Linked DNA regions of Homo sapiens: region 2 is linked to region 1. Evidence: promoter capture Hi-C in 16 types of primary human blood cells and fetal thymus (Javierre and others, 2016). All regions are on one chromosome and are shown on one strand. The core of a region is centred on a gene start or on the middle of the fragment in contact, and the rest is flanking DNA. Distances in the headings are between cores, read along the strand shown. Region 1 holds the start of MYO7A (myosin VIIA). Region 2 holds the start of AQP11 (aquaporin 11).

What was found. Contacts are between HindIII fragments. The CHiCAGO score rates a contact against its expected background, and 5 or more counts as called.
Region 2: a contact is called between the fragment with the promoter of AQP11 here and the fragment with the promoter of MYO7A in region 1, in 3 of 17 cell types (erythroblasts, endothelial precursors and neutrophils). The highest score is 5.3, in erythroblasts.

What each region holds. Positions count from the first base shown.
Region 1 is chr11:77,124,069-77,131,812 of GRCh38, reverse strand. It overlaps MYO7A (myosin VIIA), which reads right to left and starts at 3,567. Exons shown (of 49, transcript NM_000260.4): 1 at 3,324-3,567; 2 at 1,161-1,224. The coding sequence starts at 1,178. It overlaps CAPN5 (calpain 5), which reads right to left. Exons shown (of 13, transcript NM_004055.5): 13 at 5,658-7,744. RefSeq lists enhancers at 1-543, 1,989-2,712, 3,435-4,158, 4,159-4,881. The HindIII fragment of the contact is 18,517 bases long and covers 1-7,744 here.
Region 2 is chr11:77,585,234-77,592,977 of GRCh38, reverse strand. It overlaps AQP11 (aquaporin 11), which reads right to left and starts at 3,025. Exons shown (of 3, transcript NM_173039.3): 1 at 2,367-3,025. The coding sequence starts at 2,985. RefSeq lists a silencer at 3,049-3,678. The HindIII fragment of the contact is 3,851 bases long and covers 2,418-6,268 here.

The DNA.
Region 1 (7,744 bases), core at 2,318-4,817:
AGTGTACTTCCTGCTTGAGGGCAGGCAGAACAGGCATTCACCTACAAGACACTTGCTCCCAACAGAGGCCACCCACAGCTGGAGGTGGGTCAGCGTTCAGAGGGGCAGGAGAGGAGGGGGTGGTGAGGAGGTCCCATCAGCCAGAGGCCTGCCTCAGAGGCCCCCTGAGGGAGGACGCCCCTGGAGGGCTATGGGGGCCCAGGCCCTGGCACACAGCAAACACTCAGCGAATGGACTTTTCCTCTCCTAGATCCTGCCCATCTCTAATGGGCGTTTGAACAGGCTCTCAGGCCAAGGGGCTCTAAAGGGGGTCTCCTCCAGCCCCTGGGATAGAAGAATGTCTGTCCTGATGCTGCCCTGAAGCCTGCCTCTCACTCACACACACAGACACACACACGCGCACGCACTCATATGCAAACATGCTGGTCCGTGCAGCCTCAGGGTGGCCAGGCAAGGCTGAGCCATTGGCCTCTGGTGACCCTGGAGACCGAGAAGCTGCTGGCCAAGCCCCCATAATGCACAGCCCCACAAGCCCTACGGCCTGCTGCCAGGCCCACCTGGCTCAGGGCCCACATTCCTGGCTCCTGCTCTGGAGGCCAGGAGCTCATTAGAGCCTCAGACTGATCACGGGGAAGGGCTGAGGGTCAGAGGCCACTGTGGCCCTCAGTAGGAAGGGGGGCTGGAGGACTCAGCTCGGGCCAGCACCTCTGCTTCTTCCCATAAAATCCCAGGGGGCTCCAGCTCAAGCCTTGTCACCCCCCGCCCTCCAGTCACTGCTCCCCAAGGCCCTAAGAATAAGTTGGGCTCAGGGCCCTTCCTGGCCTGGCTTTGGGAGCCTTGCCAACCTCCTCTCCTCTTCCCCAGGGACCTTCCCACACCTGGGCCTTTGCACATGCTGTTCCACTGCCTGGGATCCAGAGATGTGTGTAAATAAACTCATTTCTGCCCAGTGGGGTGAGCCAGTGAGAGAAGGAAACCCCAGCTGGCACAGCAGAGGGAACAGGTTTCAGACTAGGCCTCAGCCTGGAGGGCTGGGTTTGGAAGCCTAGGCAGGAATTTTCCAAGAGAACACCCTGGGGAGGGTGTCCCACGGGTAAGCATATGGATGAGGGGATATGGCCTGGGGAGGACAGGCCACCCAAAGAGGTGGGAACACTGACCTGCTGAAGAATCACCATGGTCCCAAGTCAGGAGCTCCTGCTGCCCACTGGGCCAGGCACAGTTCTGCAGGGAGAGAGACCATGTCATGCTTCTGGGCAGGCCAGCCCTGGAAGCCTTGAGCCTGGCTGGGGTCACCTGGGCTCCTCCCAAAGCCCCAGCTCCTCCTCCCTCAAGGGAACCCTCCTTGGCTTCTCTCCCTCTGACCACTGCCCAGCCTGTGTGACCTGAGCCTCAGCCACTGTCACCAGCACCACTGCCCAGAGCAGCTGAATTCTTCTCTCAGCCACTGTCATTCAGAGATTCCCAAAGGGCTCCTAGAAAGTAGCAAGTCTGGCCCCACCAGGGACCTACGGCAAAGGGGCCCAGAGAGGGACCAAGACTTGCCCAGGGTCACACAGCTAGCCAGAGCAAATTTAGGACTAGGACTTAATCTCCGGCACTCAGCTTAGGGACTGCCCCAGGAATGTGGGTGACAAGGACAAGCCTGACTGAGCAGAAGGTCAAGGGCTGGGCATGACCTGCTCACAGCACACCCTGCCTGAAACCTCTCAAGAGCACCCACTGCCCTCAGGATGGCTCTGTGCAGAGCACTGGCTGCTGACGGGGAGGCAGGGTCATTGGGGTCTGTCTCTGGCTGTGCTGCTGAATGCACCGCACCTGGGCCTGGGCCCGGGCCCGGGCCCGCCCCGCTAGGCCCAGCACAATCTGGCCCCTGCTGATGCCTCGGTCTTTTCTCTCACTGCTCACTCCCTTTCCTACCCTTATACTTGGACATCCTCAGTGACTCACTGTTCCTGAAATACGCCAGCTCTTGCCATCTCCTGGCCTTCACACACTGGCCCTTCTACCTGAAATTTTGACTAGTGAATTTCCACTTATGGTTCATGGCTCAGTTCAGATGATACCTCCTCCAGGAAGCCTTCCCTGACCACTCCCAAGCTGCCAAGAGCCTCTATATTCCCCTTTATCCCATTTTGACTATATGCATTATGTTGTCAGGGTAAGGGTCAGTCCCACCTCTGCCCCCAAAGTTGGCGAGTTGATCCAGGGCAGGATGTGGCCAATGGGAGAGGGTCTGAGACATTGCCTTGTCTCCAGCCTTGTCCAGCACAGGGCCAGACCCAGAGACGGCCTCAGGAAGGAGCTTAAAAGGCAGCCCCAGCCTACAGACCCTGGTATGAGGCCCCTCTGGCTCCCAACCTGTCTCCTAGAATGCGCATCAATTTTTCACAAGGGCCCATTCAGAGCCGCCGGGGCATTCGATCCTCTGCCCATGACACTGCCCGACATCCGAGCCCTGACCCCTGCCCTGGAGCTCTGGGACACAGCAAACCCACAGTCCTTCCAGAGACCTGAACTAGTCTGGATGCCTGGTGGAGATGTGGATTCAACAGGGCCAGCAGGCAGTTGCCACCGGGCACTTGTCTGAAGATGGTGCCCAGGCTGTGGAGCAGGCGCCCTATGCCAGCATGAGCCATGAGGGCTGGGGGCAGAGCCAGTGCTTTCACTAGAGACATGGGGCTCCAAGGGATGGGGGAGAGTGGTGAGGGCGTGAAATTTAAGGGCCACATTTTAAAATGACCAGACAGACATTTCATTTCTAAAAATGAGAACTAGACCACCTTCAAGTTAATTTCTTTTCCAACTGACAACAGGGGGCATAGACTGTATTTGTATTTCTATGTCTATACCTGATTTTACCTCTTCCCCACTACAACCCTGGCTGTTGGGGCTTCATACTCCCATTTCACAGATGGGATATTTGGGGCATAGAGGAAGGAAGTGACTTATCCAAAAACGGAGATAAAGAGTGTCAGAGAGAAAGCAAAGGAGACAGAGAGAACGGACTCTTCTCTCTGCCACCACAGCATGTCTATTCCCCTGGCCCCAGGATGCCACTAACCCCAGCCCCAGCTCAGAGAAGATTCGATGGACAACATGCTCCTTGGCTCTTCCCTCCTCCAGGGGACACACATCCATCTTCCCAGGCTCGGGACAGTTTCATTCAGTGGCTGTGGTGGCTGAGCCCTCAAGGGTGGCAGGAAGCCCAGTCCCAGGAGCAAGTGGCTGTGGGGCAGAGGCTCTAGAGGTAGCTCAAGTCCATGACTCCTCCACATCCAAACCCCTCCCAATGCCCAGGACAGTGGGCAGCCCATCCTTACCTGGGGCCCAGCTGCCCACTCTCAGTGACCTGCCAGCCTGGTACAGCTGCCACCTGCACGGAGGACTCAGGAAGCTGGGTCACGGGCCCAGCCAGTCTGCAAACACACGTCCCCTCTTCCTCTGTCTGGCTCCAAGTCTCGTTCTAGGCGTCCCTCTGGGTCTTTCCCTTCCTCGCCGTCTCTCTGTGTGTGTCTCTTGTCTCTCCCTCTCTCTCCTGCCCAGAGCAGCTGTCCAGCCAGCACTGCTGCCCTCCCCTCCTCACTCCAGAGCCTTCTCCCAGGAGGCGGAGCCGGAGGGGGCCTCCAAGGTCTGGGTGCGGTGACATCAGCGTGGGGGACGGGCCGTGCTGGGGCTGGGACTAATGTCCAGAGGCTGCTCAGGGCTCTGTGCAGAGCACTGGCTGCCGACAGGGAGGCGGGGTCATTGGGGTCTGTCTCTGGCTGTGCTGCTGAATGCACCGCACCTGGGCGTGGGCCCCCCAGGCTAGCTTCAGGTGCCTCCTGTTGTTTGCAGGACACCGCCTGCTGTCTCAGCACCTGAGCAGGAAACCGCACCTGATCCTGACTTAATCACTGATGTGCTGGGGTCTCAGCCCCATTTCTTCCTCCTCTACCTGGCTGTTTGGGACTCAGAGAGGGAACGGTCAGGCAGAGCATGGCAGGAGGGAGAGTGCTGAGCTAAAGCCCTGCCTTCTGCGCCTTCTCCCTCCTGCACACCCACCCTTGCCTCTGATGTGTGTTCTCTGACGCTGGTCAATGCAACATTGCCCCCACAACCTGCTCTGCGGGTTGGGGACACATGTTATTCCGTAATCATCCAGAAACTTTGCCAAACCAGCTGACTGGGAGCCACCCCACGTGTGACAGCGACACAGATAAACTGAAGTGAAATCTGTGATTTAAAGGAGTGGGGGGAACCAAGCAAAGAGGAGCACACGTCTTTGTTATTAGCGTTGTCGAGGATGGAGACCTCGCGCGGCCCTATCGGGACATGACAGTTTCTCCTTTCCGCCCTCGGCAGCCACGCAGCTGTCGGCGGCCCCATAGTGCACCTCGCCAGGGCAGCTCTGGGTGGCAGAAGGATGTCTCTTTTGGGTCCCTAGCCCCCATAACTGGGGTGTCTGCAGGGAAGCTGCCCAGAAGGTGGGGTGGGGGCCCAAAGGGGCGCTATAGCTCGCCAGCGCCGCCTGCTGGTCACAGGCCCCACTGCCCAGCTGCTTCCGTCAGGCGGGCTGAGCACCGCTGGGAAGTGACCGTGACAGGAGTCAGCTTCTGCTAGGGCCTGGGTCCCCTCAGACCCGACGACCCTGTCCCAGGAAGACCCCAGGATGCCGTCTGCCCCTTAGCCTGCTGGCCTAACAGGAGTCCAGGAGTCCCTGGAACACAGTCCCCACCTGGGATTTGCACCTGCTGCCGAAACCCAGTACTGGCCACTCCTCAAGTCCCCCCTCTCCATCCTCCCAGGCTGGGCGGGGCCAGTGGCGTCAGCCCTACACGGATGGGGAAATGAGACCCCGGGGGAGCACAGGAGAGCCCATGGCACACGACTGGCAGCAGGGACAAAATGCAGTGAGCTGTGGGAATGGGGCAGAGAGGTGGGCAGGTTATGGGGGACAGGGCGGCCTCCAAACACCAGGATGACAGCTACATTGTGTTCAGCCATGCTATGAACCAGGCACTATGCTAAGCAGATCACACGATTTGCAATACCCATTTCTCAGTCCCATGAAGAAAGCGAGGCATCTCGGTTCACTTTGCCCTCACACTGCACTCACCCCGTCTCCCAAGTCGTTTTTCATTGAGTCGTCCACTCTGCTTTCAGTCATCCCAACCCTGCTTCTCCCCACCACCACACCAGCTTCCTGGCCCTAGATGCCTGCATCTGCCCTCAGCAGCCTCCGCTCTGGTCCCCCCACACCTTCCTGTGCCCCGAAGGCCCATCTCCTCTTCCCAGCCCTTCATGCACAGATCAGGGAGTAGGCCGTCTCTAACCCAGCAGGCCCACACTGCCCCATCAGTAATGTGCGGGGTAGTGTCTGTCATGACCAGAGTATGTCTTTGTTCTCGCTGCTCGTTTGTAGACTGTCCCAGAGCAGGGATTGCTATGCCTGGTTCCCCACATCCCAGGTGCCCGGGGCAGGCCTTGGCACAAAGCCAGCCCCGTACAGATCTACTGAATAAAGGAATGACTGAATGATCCCCACAATCTCAGCTCACAGGTGCACCGGGCAGGCAGCGGGGCCTTCCCTCTGACCAGCGGACAGTCGCCCAGGCCTGGGGAATATTCCTCCATTGTCCCTTCCCCCCAGGGGGACAGAGGGACACAGGAAAGTCTTTTTGGAATTTTGTAAGATTTATTGAGAATAGAACAGGCTTCCTGTCCCCTAACCCTGTGGTGGATCCTGAGAAGAGGGAAGCCTAGGTCTGGGTGGTGTGGGCTGGAGGCCCTACCCACCTGCAAATGGGGACTCCCAGGCCCCCGCGGGTGCATACAGTGAACAAAGTAATTGCTCTCCCCTATCACCCCTGATCCTTACCTGCCTGGCCCCCAAGGTCTCCTGGGGACCAGAGATCCCTGCATAGCCAGGAGCCAGCCTGGCCCACCTCAAGGGGCAGGAAGCAAGGGTAGCACTGTGGAACCTGTTTTTGTCAGGGGGTGGCAGGCATGCCCCGGCCCCGAGGCTGAAGCCCACAGGTCTGCCACTTGGTCCTGGTGTGCCCCTGTATCCCAGGGGACATGGCTGAGCAAAGTCCTATGTGTTAGCCTGAGGTGCAAGCTGGCTCACTTCACCCCCTACTCAGGAGCCTTGATTTGAAATAGACATCGAGAAGTGGTGATTACATGAATGTATATATATATATATATATATATATAGTGCGTGTGCATACAGAGATACATAGAGAAAGGGGTATTATTTTGCCCTTACTCAGCACTCGGTAGTAACAGTGCTGACACACAAGAATCATTGGCCCCACTTTGTAGAAGGGGGAAATCGAGGCACAGGAGGTTTAAGTGACTTGCTCCCAGTCATGCAGAGTCCCGGCCCCAGGCCCAGGTTCTTGAGGGGAAGTCCCGGCTTTCAAGAAAGAACACTCTTATCCTCCTTGTCGTTCATTTCCTGGCCCCTCATATGGCCCAGGGCCAAGACCCAGGAGCAAAGCCAGACACAGAGTGAGGAGGCAAAATCAGAGAATCCAGCACCTCCAGCCAGAACACTGATCCAGACAGCAGGATCTGGAGTCGGAAAGTCAGGTTCCCAAAAGGAAATCCCAGCAAGGACACAGGGATTCCTGTTCTTGAATTAACTGCACTTTTTCATTTGCTACACCTGGTCTGGAAGCCCGAGAAGGGCACAGCAGAGATCCCAAGTGGGTCACGGCACCAGTGCTCACGAAGAGTTCTCCAGAGGACCAGCAAAACTGGAGCCAAGAAGAAAAATGGAGGTTCAGGCTTTCAATTTTCTTTTAAAACCCCTGATTAAAATTGAGATTTTCAAAACAAAAAGAATATAAAACATTGAGGACTAAAAGGAACATTTTGGTCTGGGCAGGAAGAAGAGCACTGCGGCCTCCTAGGCTGCATTTTGGGGGAATGTTGGTGGGGGGCTGTGGTCAGGTGATGGGGCTCCCTATCTCCTGCCGAGCCCAGTGGGTGGCCTGACTCTGGTGAGCACCACACACCCCAGAGTCCCATCTTCCAGGAAAAGCTGGGGTCTTACAGCAGAGAGGCTCTGGGAGCACATCTCCCCTTCTGGTCCCCAAAGGCCCCCAGCTGCCTGGCCCCTGGCCCACTAACCCAGGCATGCTCCTTCCAGCACTGGGCAGAGGAGTCAGGAAGATGCCCTTCCTCACCCCCACTGACGCCACCTCTCCAGGGACCTTAACGCAGGGGCTGGGAATGGAATCGGAAGCTAGAATGAGCAGGCAGCAGCAGCTCCCCTAGGTATCTGCCTCTGAGAGGACCTGAGGACAGAGGCGAGGCCCAAGGCAGAGGCCGGAGTAGGGCCCCGCTTCACCTGGGGCCTCAAAGGTGTCGTTTATTCATTTGGCAAATCTCCACTGAGTGAGGAAATGGATGGGTGAGAGGATGGGATTAGAGAATGAACAAATGTCACCTGCATATTTTCCCAATTCCAGCCTGAGCAGGAACCCGGCAGGAGCCAAGAGTCCTTTCAAGGTGGGAGAACACCAGGTATTGCTGATGGGGAAAGTGAGGTCTGGGAGGCTGGGTTGGGCCTAGGACACGAGGGGCAAGAACGGAGCTTGGGGATGTGGCAGTTCGTGTGTAAACAAGTGACATCTTCTTGGCGCTCCTCGGCAGACAGCAGGGCCTTAGGAAAATGTGCTCAATGGATAGAGTCCCTTAGCAGTGGTGACAGTTGAGGTGGGGAGGACTATTTGAAATCTCAGCAAGGAAACTC
Region 2 (7,744 bases), core at 1,776-4,275, 460 kb before region 1:
TACCTTGGTTTCATAATGGGATCACCTGTGAAGCTTTACAATACACCGCTGCCTAGGCCCCTTGCCAGAGCAATTGGATTTTAATCTGTGGGCCCAGAACAAGGACGTTTAAAGAGCTCCCCAGGTGATTTTAATACAGAGAGAAACACTGCTCTAGTGTTCCCTTTATACTCTCCCTCTCCCCCATCAATTAGTACCCTCATTTCAAGAAAAAAAGGGCAGTGTTTTTGATCTGTTGATATTTTATAGATACTTCTAATAACTTTCCTTATATCTATGACTGGATCTATAACTCCAAGTATTATCTGTGTCTCTTCTCTCAAATTTTTTGTCACTGATAAAATAGGGAATGGCTAATATATACAGTATTATCTATGGAATCATAAATATGTATTAAAAGTAGACAGAAAGAATATCAACTTCAGGTTAATCAAGAGAGGGAAGAGGAACATAGGTATTGAAAAATCCAACTGTAGTTAATGTTCTATTGATGTAAAAATTCTTTTTTAAGTTTTTACTGCTTTTAATTGTAGAAATAAAGAGCTAAACCATAGCATAACTCTTTTTGCAGTGACAATTCTGTTCATATACAGGGGATGTTTCTGCTTTAGCTAAAATCTAAAACTTCAATAAATAAGCAACTACCCACCAATCCCTCAAATATGCCTGTACTTGTCACTCTTTTTCTCTTTTTCTTTTTTTTTTTCTTTTGAGACAGACAGGGTCTCTATAACCCAGGCTGGAGTGCAGTGGCACTATCACAGCTCACCACAATCTCAACCTCCTGGACTTGGGTGATCCTCCCACCTTAGCCTCCCAAGTAGTTGGGACTACAAGTGCGCACCAGCACGCCCGGCTAATTTTTGTATTTTTTGGAGAGATGGGATTTCTCTTATGTTGCCCAGGCTAGTCTCGAACGCCTGGGCTCAAGCGATCCACCTGCCTTGGCCTCCCAAAGTGTTGGGATGACAGGTGTGAGCCACCGTGCCCGGCCCCCTTCACTCTTCTATACCACTTATTTCCATTTATGTCTACTTAAAAAGTGGTACTAGACCTAAAGAAGGGGAAATTGATTGGGAAGGCTTGCTTTCTTTCTTTTTTTTGAGACAGAGTCTCACTGTTGTCGCCTGGGCTGGAGTAAAATGGCGCGATCTCAGCTCACTGCAACCTCCGCCTCCCGGGTTCCAGCAATTCTCCCGCCTCAGATTCCCGAGTAGCTGAGATTACAGGCGCCCACCACCATGCCTGGCTAAATTTTTTTTGTATTTTTAGTAGAGACGGGGTTTCACCATGTTGGCGAGGCTGGTCTCAAACTCCTGACCTCAGGTGATCCACCCACCTCGGTCTCCCAAAGTGCTGGGATTACAGGCGTGAGCCACCGCGCCCGGCTGAAGGCTTTCATTTTTACCCTAGAAGGTCAAGTACGTGTTTAGGAGTCCTTATCTTGAAGTTTGCTTCTAGTCATTGTTTCACTTTTAATGGGCAGAAGATTATTACCACAAATTTCCTTTGTTGTTATTTCTGCCTCCACAGTCTTTTATAATTTAGATGTAGTCCCAATAAAGATATTCTGTTGTAATCATTTAAAATGACACATTTCATCATTAAATACTTGTGTTTTGGATTTCCTCCTCCCACTTAGGACTAGATTGCCCACTGCATCTGAGATCTGTCAAAGTAAACAAATGGTTTAAAAGAAATCAACAGATTTCTCAAGAGTTATATTTTAAAAAGCATCTTTAATTTGAAGCAAGTTATCATTTAAACATTTTTCTTAATAGGTCACTTAAAAGTTCATGTATAACTCAAAATGAATTATTAAGGAAATAAGAAATTTCATAACTCAAAATGAATTATTAAGGAAATAAGAAATGACTTTAAATCATTTATAGGACTAAAATGGAACTACAAAATTTCTACCCTCCGCTCTTATACTAACCAATCATGTGCCTTGTGCTTTAAATCGAAAGGAACTTTGTAAAGCCAGGATCATTTTTCAGTAAGAGTATCCGAAACGATCTATACCACCTTGGCATGAAGAAAGAGGCAGTTAATAAGTTATCTTTCCTTTCTACCATTAAAACAATCCCTTTGTAGGATATCTGAACCCTTGGCAATATCTCACAGTATCTCAGTTTCAGCACAGAGGTGGCTCCTTTCTCTGGGTGTTCAAAGCAGCACTGCATGAAGGCTCTACGTGTCGGCCCTACTGGTTAAGAACGGGCTGCAAAATGGTTAGAATAACGGGGATACCAGCATTTACATCATAGCGGGATAGACGGTTTCAAATGTATTTTAGTAAAGAACTTACAGCCTCATGTCATAGAGGCTCTGGAAGTGCCAAGTATTTGGTGAGAATGACAAACCTGCATAGACCAAAAAGGTGATGAGTGCAGCCAGCAGGTGGATACGAAGCTTGGTTCGGACTTCCTGGAAGTGCAGCAGAGCGCTGTGGAAGAGAAAGGAGCAGACGGCCTCTGTGATGACCGCTTTGAGCAAGTCGACTCGGATGGGATTCTTGCAAGCGAAGCTCCTCTCGCTGACGTGATACTGGGTCAGACCCAAGCTCCACAAGGCGCTTGTGCAGTACCTGCTGCACAGGGCACTAACCAGCTGAGCCAATAGCCTCACCGCACCCGTCTCGGGGGACATGCCCCCCAGCATCATCTGCATCATCACGCCGCACGGGTTGCTGGACGTGCCCACCAGAGTCAGGCCATGCACAAGCGAGAAGAAGTAGACGAGCGTCAGCGTCCAGGTGGGGTGCGCGGGGTGCTGTTCGCTCAGCAGTTGCAGCTCGTGGGTGCAGCAGCAGAGCTGGAAGGTGGCTAGAAACTCCAGGACGAAGGCGTGGGCCACCGGCCTGTGCAGCTGCTGCCGGGCGACTACGCGGGCCAGCCCCATGAGCAGCACCACCGACAGCATCAGTCCCAGCGAGGTGCAGGTGTCCTGCAGCTCGGACCGGAGCCCCAGCAGCGGCGACATGGCTCCGTCGCCGCCTGAGCGGGTTGCGGGCTCCGGCTCTGGGTAGGAGGCGGTCTCCAGGCCCGAGTCCGAAGTCCGCAGCCCCTCCCCTCCTCACGCCCCTCGGGGCGGGACGAGCGGGAGGCTCCCGAGCGGCACACTTAAGAAGTCCTCCCCGCCTCCCCGGCTTGGCGCTGGGGTGTTGGAACCAGAGCCGAGGAGGCGGGGAGGCGGGGAGGCGGGGAGGCGCGGGGAGGCGCGGGGAGGCGAAGGGAGGTAGCCTAGGGCGCCGGCCGCAGGGCCAACGGTCAGCCGAGCCCACCGCGCACTCACCCTCCGCAGTCTCCCTCAGGGCCTTGTAGGCGGGCGCGGCGGCGGAGGGCCGGCGCGGCGCGGTCGACGCAGCGCTCTTGGTGCCCACTGCGCACGCGTGCTGCGGCCCTTGCGCCCCTGCGGGCGGTGACACCCGGACCACGGGGCGGAGAGGAGCGGCACGGCGCGGCGGAGCTCTGATGGTTGCTTTGCAGCGAGGACCTTAGAGTTTTTCTTTCCCCGCTCCACACTGTAAAACCGTGGAGCTGGAAAGACCGCTGAAGGCCATCTCACATAGCCACCTCGTTTTTATCAATGGGCGACTGAAATTGAGAGGGGAGACGCGGCGCAGGGGGCGGGTGAGTTAGTGGGCGTAGACCGGTGCGCAGGGCCTCCTGGAGCCTTGCTTTTCTTCACCTGCCAAAAAACATTTCTAAAAATGGTGGTAATATATGCCAGATAAAATTCGCCACTTTAATCAATTTAAGTGTATATTTCAGTGGCATCGATTACCCTCACAGTGTTGTTCAACAGTCACCTCTTTTTTCCAGAACTTGAGCGGTGATTCTTCAAAGTGTAGCCTAGTTTTAGCATGTGACTGTCTATAACCTTTGGCATGAACTCTTTACGTATAATATGAAACAGTTGTGTCTTACTGTTACATGCACTCTTCGTGAAGAGGAAACAACAGGTAACTGGAGAGGTCTGTTTCCAAGAACTGGGGGTCCTGGCGCACCTCTTCCATCTGCTTTGAAAGCAGGAATACGGCTGCGTGAGGTGGAGCGCGTCCGGAGTCCCAGCACGGAGAGGCTTAGGTGGGAAGACCGCTTGACCCCAGGAGTTCCAGGCTGCAGTGAGCTGAGATCGCGCCACTGCACCCCTGCCTGGGCCACAGAGCGAGACGCTGTTTTTAGAAACAAAAACAACAACAAAAACCGGGCGCGGCTGGGCGCGGTGGCTCACGCCTATAATCCCAGCACTTTGGGAGGCCGAGGCGGGCGGATCACCGGAGGTCGGGAGTTCGAGACTAGCCTGACCAACATGAGAAACCCCCGTCTCTACTAAAAATACAAAATTAGCCGGGCATGGTGGCGCATGCCTGTCATCCCAGCTACTCGGGAGGATGATGCAGGAGAATCGCTTGAACCCGGGAGGCAGAGGTTGTGGTGAGCCTAGATCGCGCCATTGTACTCCAGCCTGGGCAACAAGAGCGAAACTCCGTCTCAAAAACAACAACAACAACAACAACAACAACAACAAACCAGTCAAACAAACAAAAAACAAAACATGAAAGCCACTTAGTACAGTTCCCAATACGTAGAAAATATTCACTAAGTGGTAGCTTACAGTGGAAACAGCAGGTTTCAGCAGCCAGAGTGCACGGCTCTTGCCACCGCATTCCAGTCCCAACAGCTTGTCCCCTGGGGTGGCCCATTGTAGGTGCAGCACTTTGGGAGTCCGAGGCAGGCGGATAACGAGGTCAGGAGTTCAAGACCAGCCTGGCCAACATAGTGAAACCCCGTCTCTACTAGAAATACAAAAATTAGCTGGGCATGGTGGTGCGCACATGTAGTCCCAGCTACTCGGGAGGCTGAGGCAAGAGAATCCCTTGAACCCGGGAGGTGGAGGTTGCAGTGAGCCAAGACAGTGCCACTGCACTCCAGTTTGAGCAACAGAGTGAGACTTCGTCTAAAAAAAAAAAAAATTCTTTCACAAGACACAAACTAGTAGAAAATCAAGACCTTTTCTCTTTCCTGTGTTGATTGCCTGGCCAGAAAGAATTTAAATTAGAATTATTTATTATTATTATTTTTTTAAGACAGAGTCTCGCTCTGTCTCCCAGACTGGAGTGTAATGGCGTGATCTCAGCTCACTGCAACTTCTGCTCCCGGGTTCACGCCATTCTCCTGCCTCAGCCTCCCGAGTAGCTGGGACTACAGGCGCCTGCCACCACACCTGGCTTTTTTTTTTTTTTTTTTTTTTTTTTTTTTTTTTTTTTTGTATTTTTTAGCAGAGATGGCGTTTCACTGTGTTAGCCAGGATGATCTTGATCTCCTGACCTTGTGATCTGCCCGCCTCGGCCTCCCAAAGTGCTGGGATTACAGGCGTGAGCCACCGCGCCCGGCAATTAGAATTACTTTTAAGTCACTGCTGTTTAAAGAAGTTGCCTTTAAATCAATCCTATGAATGTAACCCTTTCAGTGCTCCCCTAGACTTGAAGTCACTTGAGGATTAATGTGAATGTATTTTATTTACTGCTCTGCTGATAATTCACTTTTACCCGGAAGAGTCATGTAGAAAACCAGTGTTTTGGACTTTGGTAAGAAATTTTAGTATCGTGGTAATACATATTGTCATTAAAAGGACTTTGGACATTTTTTAAATTAAAGAACAAGGGCAAAATTAACATAATTAATTACTACTGATTGGATATTTTGCATCAAATCAACCTTCCTATTTTCAGAAACAAGAAATCACCAATTAAAGTCTCTTGAGAGTGACATCATGGACGAAGACCTCTGTTAGCTTTGGTAAAACAGCAGTAAAAACAGTCCTTGCTCTTGAATAGCATAGAAGAGGGAACAGAAGAGAAAACAAAATTAAAATATAGTGTAAAAGTACAATGGTAAAAGAAGAAAGGCCTGGGCACAGGGAGGGGCCCCCACTCAGACTTAAGGAAAGGCTCCTTGGAGGAAGTGTCATCCTAGCTGAAACCTGAAGAATAAATAGGAGTTAAGGGGTAAAGAGAAGAGGGAGAAAGAAGAGAGGCAGAGGCACTGCATTTTGCAAACAGAGAAAGCCTAGAGGAGTCCCCGTGCTCTAGGCTGGAGTATGAAGGGGGAAGTAGCAAGAGATCAAGGTTAAAAGAAATAATGCCTGAAAAAGATTTAGTACATGGCCCAGCACATAGTAGTGCTTAATAAGGTTTAATATATAAAAATGGAGGTAAAATAGACGATAGTTCAATAATCATGGATTTTGCCCTGAAGCTTCAGACAAGACAAAGCGAAATGAAGAAAAAAAAAAACCCCTGCCAAAATTCAGAATTGCATTTCGTTAACATCTGCGAGGAGATAAAGCATTTAAGAGCTTCTGCACCAGGCGCGGTGGCTCACGCCTGTAATCCCAGCACTTTGGGAGGCCGAGGTGGGTGGATCACCTGAGGTCAGGAGTTTGAGACCAGCCTGGCCAACATGGTGAAACCCTGTCTCTACTAAAAATACAAAAATTAGCCAGGCGTGTTGGCACATGCCTGTAGTCCCAGCTACTCAGGAGGCTGAGGCAAGAGAATAGCTTGAACCCGGGAGGTGGAGGTTGCAGCGAGCCAAGATTATACCACTAAACTCCAGCCTGGGCAACATGGTGAGACTCCATCTCAAAAAAAAAAAAAAAGAGCTTCTGAAGCCATGTCCTTTGGCTTGACGTTTACGTGGGAAGAAACATGGGAAGAATTTAAGTAATTGCATTTTAAAAGTATTTTATTTTGAAATAATCTCAGGCTTTCAGAAAAGTTGCAAGTATAGTACAAAATTTTTTTTTCCTGAACCATTTGAAAATTAATTGTTAATATTATGCCCAATTACTCAGAACATTTTAGGGTGTATTTTCTTAAACATCTGTGTCCTACATAGCCATAATAAGACTATCAAAATCAGGAAATTAACATTGTTACTACCATCTACTCCTCAGATCCCATTCAAGTTTTGCCAGTTGTCGCAACATTGTACTTCTTAGCAAAAGGATCCAATTCAGAATTGCACATTGCATTTAGTGTCATGTCTCATGAGTTTCCTTCAATCTAGAAAAGTTCCTCAGCTCTTCCTTGACTTTCATCACCTGGACAATTTTGAGGTTACAGATCAGTTATTTTGTAAAATCTCCTTGAATTTGGGTTTGCCTAATGTTTCCTAGATACTAGTTTCAGGTTAAGTGTCTTTTTTTTTTTCTTTTTTTGAGACAGAGTCTCACTGTGTTGCCCAGGCTGGAGTACAGGGGCGTGATCGCGGCTCAATGCAGCCTTACAGGGTATGCATCTTTAGCAGGAATATCACAGAAGTGATGCCATATTTTTCTCATTGTGTTTTATCAGATGTGTACTCCAAAAATCTGAGACATGTCTCAGTTAATTTAGAAAGTTTATTTCGCCAAGGTTGAGGATGCGTGCCTATGACACAGCCTCAGAAGGTCCTGATGACATTTACCTGAGGTGGTCACAGCACAATTTGGTTTTATACATTTTAGGAAGTCATGAGACATCAATCAATATATGTAAGAAGAACGTTGGTTCAGTCTGGAAAGGCATGACATCTTGAAGCAGGAAGGGGGCTTCCAGGTCATAGGTACGTAAGAAAAAAATGGTTGCATTGTTTTAAGTTTCTGATTAGCCTCCTCAAAAGAGGCAGTCAGATATGTTTTTATCTCAGTGAGCAGAGGGGTGACTTTGAATAGAATGGGAGGCAGATTTGCC